Regions from separate parts of the Homo sapiens genome. Here regions 1 and 3 are each linked to region 2. Evidence: promoter capture Hi-C in 16 types of primary human blood cells and fetal thymus (Javierre and others, 2016). All regions are on one chromosome and are shown on one strand. The core of a region is centred on a gene start or on the middle of the fragment in contact, and the rest is flanking DNA. Distances in the headings are between cores, read along the strand shown. Region 1 overlaps INPP4A (inositol polyphosphate-4-phosphatase type I A). Region 2 holds the start of MGAT4A (alpha-1,3-mannosyl-glycoprotein 4-beta-N-acetylglucosaminyltransferase A). Region 3 has its middle 11 kb from the start of COA5.

Region 1 (2,788 bases), core at 83-2,582, 250 kb before region 2:
GCCCCAGAGGCCTGCCTTCTCAGCCTCTGCTGAAACTAAAGCTTTTTTTCTGTTTCTGTAGGGCATTGGGTGGAGCCTTGCCAGGGGCTCCTGGTTCTGACTGTCTTGGGTGGGTGGGGAACTCAGCCCTGAGAGGTTGGCTCACTGAGCATTTACCATATGCTGGGCATTGGGCCAGATGTCTGTCTAGGATCAGTTTATTAATCCCCAGCTACCTGATGAGGTAATTATTATTCATTTCCATTTTGCAGAGGAGGGAAGGGATGCTCAGAGAGAGGTGGAGTGACTTACCAGATTTTTATCTGGTGCCCTATCATATGCTCTTACGACACAGAGCAGCTTTTTGCTGTAGAAAGGACTGTCGTCATTTTACCTGTGTTAGGAACATCATCACTGACTGTGGTTCCCCTGCACTGACATTCTGGGCATTAAGGGCTGAGTCTGGGCTCTTTCTCCTATGGGTGTCTGTCCTCTCACTTGGCCCCAGGCCTTGGTGACCCTCTGTGCACTGAAGGAGTAAATGACTGAGGTGGCCAGCTAGCTCCCGTGCATTTGCACACATGGTCCCTCACTCCTGGCCCCCATCCCTTGCCAGGCAGAATGTGCCCGTCTCCAGTCCCTTGCATTGCTGGCAGCCTCAGACCGGAGAGCACTGAATCTTCCACTAGCCTGTCTTCTTGCCAGCTGCAGCCCCAGGGCGCGTGTGTCCGTCTCCGCAGCCAAACTCCCCCTGTGCTGGCCTGTGGAGGGTGAGTGGGGGGCAGGGTGCCGCACACTCTGGACCCTTCCAGCCCCAGGAAGGAGTTGTGGTGCTGCACGTGCTCCATTCTCACATGCTTCTCAGGCTGCAGGCTGTGCATTACCAGTGTGCAGTTTAGGAAACTGAGGCCCAAAGAGAGCAAAGCAGCACCTGGGGACTGACCTTGAGTTACACAGGTGTGCTTCAAGTTCTTCTGCTAGTTACCTTTCAATGCCAACACTGGGGAGGGGGTGTCCTAACAAAACATAATTTAATCAGAGCACTGTGAACTTTTCCTGCATCTGACACGTCCCTCTCAAGGTGGAGGGTGTCACCACCTGCTGCCCATTGTAATCCCTCACCCCACAGAGAGGCCAGGAAGTGAACAGGAGACTTGGAGGAATGTGGACCTGGTGTGATCCTGTGTGGAGCAAGGATGTCTTCCTCTGAAAATTCCCTGGGGGGAAAGAAATGGCATACATTTCCTATACCAGTGGGGGCTTGGTCCCTTGGCACGCATAAATCGACCACTCTTGGCAGCCAGAACCCTCGCTCCTCCAGTTTTATTCTGGTTGCCTGTGGCTCTTGGATAATCCTGTGGTCTCTTTGGGGTGCTGGTTTCTTTAGGGAGCTGCATTTGGCTTAAGGCTGGCATATGTTTTAGCTATCTGAAGTGGTTTTAGATATAAAGATTCAGTGACAGAATTCTCTATATAAAATGATTATATCACATTGAGCCTCAGTAACAGATTAATGGGGAAGGAAGGATTTATTATGTTTCCAAGTGATCCAATGTGAGCAAGCAGGCTTTGTACCAGGGGAGAATTCTAAGTGCTTGTCCTCCCTGTGGAATTGTGTTTTGCAGAATCCCAGGAAGACAGGGAGGCTGTGACAGCCTGTAAATGTGATGCTCAGCTGGCCTTGAGTGTCAGCTAGCTTGCTGGTCTTCAGGGTGCTCCCTGTCCACGCACCACCTCTGGCTGGGCTTTCCGTTCTCTAGTGAAAGGTTTTCTCAGCAGCACCTTTGCCTCTCCTTCTCCCTTCATTACGAGTTTGCCATGTTGGAGTTGGATTGTTTGATGTCTTGTCCTGGCTTAACAACTCAACACTGTGTACTTTAAAAGCTCCAAGTTTAGGCTCACACCTGTAATCCCAGTTTTTTGGGAAGCTGCAGTGGGAGGATCACTTGAGGCAAGGAGTTTGAGACCAGTTTAGTTGACAGAGTAAGATCCTGTCTTTAAAATAAATATAATTTTTTAAACTTGAAATTTAAGCAGAAGCCACGTTAAAGTGGCACAGCAGGTGATGTGAGGGACCCTGTTGGGCCACCTTGCTGTAAAATGTTTTCTGTATCCTGCTTTTTTCCTCTTTGCCTTTACACCTGTGGTTCCCACATTATTGGGCTGAGACTCTGGAGATCTGGGTAAAATCCCATCCTAGAGGGACAGCAGGTTAAATCACTTTTCCTATCTTGGCCAGCTGTGGTTTAGCTTATTGGCACCAGTCAGAGCAGGGCCTCAAGGGATGTTAGGATTGGTTGCACCTGGTTCAGAATATGGGGCCCTGCAAGGAGGGCAGTCTGAAGAAGAGTGGGATTAAAAACGAAAGCAGCCAACAGAAAGGTGGGCACCTAGAGGCAGGTGCAACTGGCTGTCCTGGAAAGCAGAGAGGGGCAGCTGTGGGCCTCTGTGCAATGGCCCCTCCACTTGTCACACCTGCCAGAATGGAGGTGTCTCCCCAGTGGGCCTGTCACAGGGAGGCCAGCGACCAGCCAGTCAGTGCTGACAGTAGGCAAGTGTGGTTGACATCCAGGGATGAGCCTCTGAGCAACCCTGGGATGTGATGCAAAAAGATATATGTGTCCTCTTGCATTTAAGAGAAATGCAAAGCTTTTGATCTAAGCTTACACTTGAAAAAATTATACTTACATTGCTTTTTTGAAAATAAGTGAAAGCATAATAGAGGTTGAACATCCCTGATCTGAAAATCCAAAATTTGAAGTACTTCCAAACCTGACACTTTTTTAGCACTGACATGACCTTCAGAGGA
Region 2 (2,700 bases), core at 79-2,578:
AATGAAAGGCACAATAATCCCTGATATCTGGAATCAATAAAATCCATGACGTAAGCCTATATAACTTTACACACCACAATTGTGGCAAAATTCATTTATTTGCCATTTATAAACGGGTCAGTAGTTTTCTTTAATACAGCTTACGTAATGTCATCGCCCAGTGCGTTTTCGGGTTTACACGTGTGGGTTAAAGAAATCTATGTCAAGATAACCTGTTCATCAAACTGTTTTTTAAACATTCAGAAAAAGAAACATAAACCACAAAACGCATATTTTTATTCTAAATTTACAGTCTACGTTCCAACGAACGACTGTCATTATCTTTTATCAAATAATCTGTCCAACAGCAAAAGCACAACAGCAAAATACGTGGAAAGCATTCAAAGCATACATTGTGCCTGCTTCTATTTTCCAATGCGGAATGTAGGCAATGAAACCGCTCCAGAGAAACACACTGTTGCGAGGAATAAAGGCGGGTGTGCAAGTGGCTCGACTGCCAGCTCAGAAAAGCTCGCCTCCGAGATGTCACCTGGCACACTTGGTGGAGTCACCGAGACCCAGCCTCAGGGTCCTACTGCAGCTTCCTCATTACGGAGAGAGCTGAGGCCTGGGGAAACGGGGGCTGCTCTTTCACGCGGGCCCCGCAGCCCTTCACTTTGTGTGAAAATTCCCTGCGAAGGCTGCACGGCCGGTCCCCTCGGGAGCAGCCCCTGCCCCTGCGCCTCGGACCGTCCGGCCCCGCCCACCTGCCCCGCGGCCCCCGCGAAAGCGCCGACTCCCGCGCAGCCCCCGGGTCCCACAGGCAGCTGTCCCTCCCCCTCCGCACCCCCCGGATCAGCACTTTGCTCCACTTTCCCCCAAAGTCGCCGAGCCCCGCCACGCCGGGGAGCGCCAGGAACGCACCAGGCGCCGAGCCGGCCGCAGAGAGGGCGCGCGACCCCGAGGGGTGCGCGGTGCGGGGCAGGGACGCTGGGAGGACGGCCCGGCCCGCGCCCCGCCGCCCGCCCCCGAGGCCCAGCCGCTCCCGGAGCCGGCCCCGCGCCCAGAGGCGCCAACAGCTCCCCCGCACAGAGCTCCGGCCGGGCCGCGGCGCAGTAGGCTCCTTTACCAGCAGGTGGATCTCCCGCAGCCCGGGGCCGCCAGCCCGGCCGCCGGCGCCGCCCCCAACTCCCGCGCCCTCCGCGCAGCCGCCCCGCGCCCCCTCCCGCCCCCGCGCGCCGCCGCTGCCGCCGCGAGCCCCTCACCCGCCGCTGGCGTCGCCGTGCTCCCGCGGCTGCCGGCGGAGCTGCTGTAGCCGCCGCCGCCGCTGCCGCCGCCGCTGCGGGCCGCCCCGCCCGCCCCGCCGGCTCCGCCCCCGCCGCTGGAGCGCCCGCCCCGCCCCGCCCCGCCGGGCCGCCCCGACCCCGCCAGCCATTGGCCGGCCCCGCGGGCCCCGCGCCCCGCGCCCCGCGCCCCACCAGTGGCCCGCGCGACTGTCACTTAGGGGCGCCGCCACGCAGCCTGCGGAGCGTTCGGGAGGCTGGCCCGGCTCATCGGTGTCACGGCGAGGTCCGGAGCGGAGCCGCGGTCTCGGGTCCCAGCTCTGGGCGCCGGCCTGCTCCCCGCCGCCCCGCTGCCACATCTGGCTGAGATCCTCCCGGCGCGTGCAGGGACCGCTCCGGCGGCCAACAAAGGCCCGGGCGAGCCCTCGGCCTGCGCCTCGGCGCGCGACCCGACCACCCGGGGCTGCCCCAGCTCCCAGGCGCCTGCCTGCCTCGACCCGGCCCCTTCCCAGCGGCGCGCCCCGCTCCGGGCCGCCCAAACTGGGCGGCCTCCCCGGGGACAGGTCCCGGGCCCAGCCCCACAGGAGCTCCCGAGGCCCCGCGGACGGTCGCGACAGCCCCAACTTCCCGGTGAGAACCCCGCGAATCGGCCAGAAGGGCTGATTTCAGCAACTGGGAAGGAGAAAAACAACTAGGGTTTCAACGCACATCGTTGGGTGCTAATGCCCCTGATTTTCCACTATGCCCCGTTTTCTTGAACCCCATGTCCTTATCTGTCGCCGTTTCACAAGGTTAGAGGTTAACTTCAAAGGCAAAAAACTGACTCGTTTGTAGAAAGCCTGGGTGGTCTGTCCCTGTTTTTCATAGTATCCATAGGACTTGTGCTAACAGTAACTACCCCTGGGTACGTCCTCTTTTGAATACTTAACTGTATAGCAGGCAACCGTATAGCAGGCATGGGTGTTAGATCGTTTATTGCATATCTCATGTTTTAAATTTATTCCCCATTTTTCATAAGAGGAAACTAGCTGAGAGGTGAAAGGGCTTGCCCAAGGTCACACAGCTGGTAATGGTTCAAAAACAAGGGATGTGTTAACTTTATTGCCGCAATAATCCTTACAGCAATCCTACCGAGTAACCTGTAAGGGAATTGAGGGGCCAAAGATCAAGGAGGCAGCCTTGTTCCTGCCAAACTCCCAAAGTAATAAGTAGATTCTTTTCAGAAAACAGTAATTTCAATAATCGAAAACTCTTAAGAGGCATCAATCAGAACAGGGTCCCCTCCCCACCTCCGATAAATTCCATTATTTTTATCTCAAGATAAGAATAATTAATAATCAGCTAGAACATGCATGGAGTTATCAGCCTTCCCATGTTGAGGTTTCTCCATGACGGCTAATTTAAAACTTCAGGAAGAGACACGTAACATCCCTGCTCC
Region 3 (2,700 bases), core at 24-2,523, 130 kb before region 2:
TCTATTACATTGTGACATTTTAGGAAAAAAAGAACTGGGATTTTACTTTTGTATTCCTAAGATTGTGGCCAGATTTTGAATGACTAATATTTATAGAATTGAATTAAATGTATTTCTAAAAGTTTAAAAAAAAAACAACCCACCATTGTTGAACAATCTCCAAAGGAAATTAAGGAAACAGTTCTATGTACAGTAGCATCATAAAGAAAATACTCAGGAATAAACAACCAAAGAGGCAAAAGTCTTGTATATTGAAAACTACAAAATTTTGCTGCAAAGAAATTAAGAATGCCAAAAAATGGAAAGACATCTTGCGCACATGGATTGAAAGACCTAATATTGTTAAGATGACAGTACTATCAAAAGTGAGCTACAGATTCAATGTACCCCCCCCCCATCAAATTCCCAACTGATTTTTTTGTGTGTGGAAATAGAAAAATCCATCCTAAGATTTACATCGAATCTCAAGGAACCCCAGGTAGCCAAAACAATCTTGAAAAAGAACAAAGCTGGAGGTCGCATACTTCCTGATTTCAAAGCTTATTATTACAGAGCTACAGTAATCAAAATAATGTGGCACTGGCATAAATATGTACAGACAGAAGTGCAGAATAGAATAGCATGCCCAGAAATAAACCCTGGCATATATGGTCAAATGATTTTCCACAGGATGCCAAGACCATTCAATGGGGAAAGAACATCTTTTCAACAAATGGTGTTGGGAAAACCAGCTATCCTTAGGCAAAAAAGCTGGACACTCACACCATATACAAAAGTTAACTCAAAATAGATCAAAGACATAATTTAAAAGCTAAAACTCTAACTCCTAGAAGAAAACACAGGAGAAACTTCATTGGAGTCAGCGGTGACTTGGGTATGACACCAAAAGCACAGGCAACAAAAGTAAAAACAAACTAGACTACACCAAAATGCAAAACCCCTGTGCATTTAAAAAAAAAAAAAAAGGCAGCCTACAGAATGGGAGAAAATATTTGCAAATCATGCATCTGATAAGAGGTTAACATCTAGAATATACAAGGAACTTCAACAATAAAAGAGCAAACAACCTATTTTTTTAATACCCATCTACCACCTTAACCATTTTAAGGGATTTAACCCATTTGAATGATTTAACTCATTCAAAATGACTTGAGACATCTCTCCAAAGAGATATACAAATGGCCAACAAGTACATGAAATTATGTTCACCACTAATCATTAGGAAGATGCAAATTAAAACCACACTGAGATACTTCACACCTATTAGGATGGCCACTATTTAAAAAAAAATAAAAAATAACAAGTATAGGCAAGAATGTGGAAAAGTTGAAATCCTTGTGTGCTGTTACTGTAGACTAGTATGGCTGCTGTGGAAAACAGTACGGCTGATCCTGAAAAAATTAGAATAACTGTGTGCTCCAGCAATTCCACTTATGGGTATATACCCACAAGAACTGAAAGCAGGGTCACAGAGGTATCTGTATACCCATATTCACAGCAGCATTATTCACAGTTACCCAAAGGCACAAGCAACCCAAGTGTCCACTGACAGATAGGTAAACAAAATGTGCTATATACATACAACTGAATATTATTTGGCCTTAAAAAAGGAAGGAAATTTTGATACATACTACAACATGGATGAACCTTGAGAACATATGCTAAGTGAAATATGCCAGTCAAAGACAAATGTGGTATGATTCCACACGAGGCACTTACTGTAGACATAAAGTAGAATGGTGACTGTCAAGGTGGAGAGTTGGAGGGGTGGTGGGGGTGAAGGGGAGTTCTGGAGATTGGTTGCATAATTGTGAGTGCACTCAACACTGTTGAACTGTACACTTAAAAATGGTTAAGATAGTAAATTTTATATGTATCTTACATTTAAAATTTTAAAAATATATTGCAAATAAAAGCCTGAAAAATTATTTTTAAAATGAATCAGACTCACATGTAAGAGGTAAAAATGTAAAACTCTTAAATGAAGATAAAACAATAAATTTCCATTAAGCTTAGATTAGGCAATGGTTTCTTAGATACACCAAAAGAAAAAAATAAATTGTAATTCACCAAAATTAGAAATTATACTTCAAAGGATACCATCAAGAAAGTGAAGAGACAAACCACAAATTGGGAGAATCTGTGAATCACTTATCTTTAGGTGACTTGTATCTACAACATACAAAAAACTGTTACAACAATAAAAAGAACCGAACTGAAAACTGGACTAAGGACTTGAATAGACATTTCTCTAAAGACATACAAATGGCCAATAAGCACATGAAAACATGCTCAGACATCATTAGTCGTTAGAGAAATGAAAGTCAAAATCTCAAGTAGATACCACTTCATACCCAGTAGAATGGCTGTAATCAAACATGAATTATAACTGCTGGTGATGTGGAGAAACTGGAACCCTCAAAGATTGTTGGTGGAAATGTAAAATGGTACAGCTACTGTGGAAAATTTTGGCAGTTCATCAAAATGTTAAAGTTGGGCCAGGAACAGTGGCCCACGCCTGTAATCCCAGCACTTTGGGAGGCCGAGGTGGGAGGATCACCTGAGCCCAAGAGTTTGAGGCCAGCCTGGGCAACATGGGGAGACCCTGTCTCCACAAAAATACAAAAAAAATTAGCTGGGCATGGTGTCACGTGACTGTGGTCCCAGCTACTCAGGAGGCTGAGTTAGGAGGAGCCTGGG

Evidence for each region. Contacts are between HindIII fragments. The CHiCAGO score rates a contact against its expected background, and 5 or more counts as called.
Region 1: a contact is called between a fragment that was not itself captured here and the fragment with the promoter of MGAT4A in region 2, in 2 of 17 cell types (activated CD4 T cells and non-activated CD4 T cells). The highest score is 6.5, in activated CD4 T cells.
Region 3: a contact is called between a fragment that was not itself captured here and the fragment with the promoter of MGAT4A in region 2, in 2 of 17 cell types (naive CD4 T cells and non-activated CD4 T cells). The highest score is 6.7, in naive CD4 T cells.

The regions. Positions count from the first base shown.
Region 1 is chr2:98,480,131-98,482,918 of GRCh38, forward strand. All of the region lies in intron 1 of INPP4A (inositol polyphosphate-4-phosphatase type I A), which reads left to right. Among named protein-coding and RNA genes, the nearest start is that of INPP4A, 37 kb to the left of the region's middle. The HindIII fragment of the contact is 2,587 bases long and covers 40-2,626 here.
Region 2 is chr2:98,729,804-98,732,503 of GRCh38, forward strand. It overlaps MGAT4A (alpha-1,3-mannosyl-glycoprotein 4-beta-N-acetylglucosaminyltransferase A), which reads right to left and starts at 1,329. Exons shown (of 16, transcript NM_012214.3): 1 at 1,245-1,329. LOC107985922 (a long non-coding RNA gene) reads left to right here and starts at 1,478. Exons shown (of 2, transcript XR_007087150.1): 1 at 1,478-1,892. RefSeq lists silencers at 1,337-1,666, 1,687-1,876, 1,983-2,277. The HindIII fragment of the contact is 4,047 bases long and covers 1-2,700 here.
Region 3 is chr2:98,596,100-98,598,799 of GRCh38, forward strand. No RefSeq gene overlaps it. Among named protein-coding and RNA genes, the nearest start is that of COA5, 11 kb to the right of the region's middle. The HindIII fragment of the contact is 1,472 bases long and covers 538-2,009 here.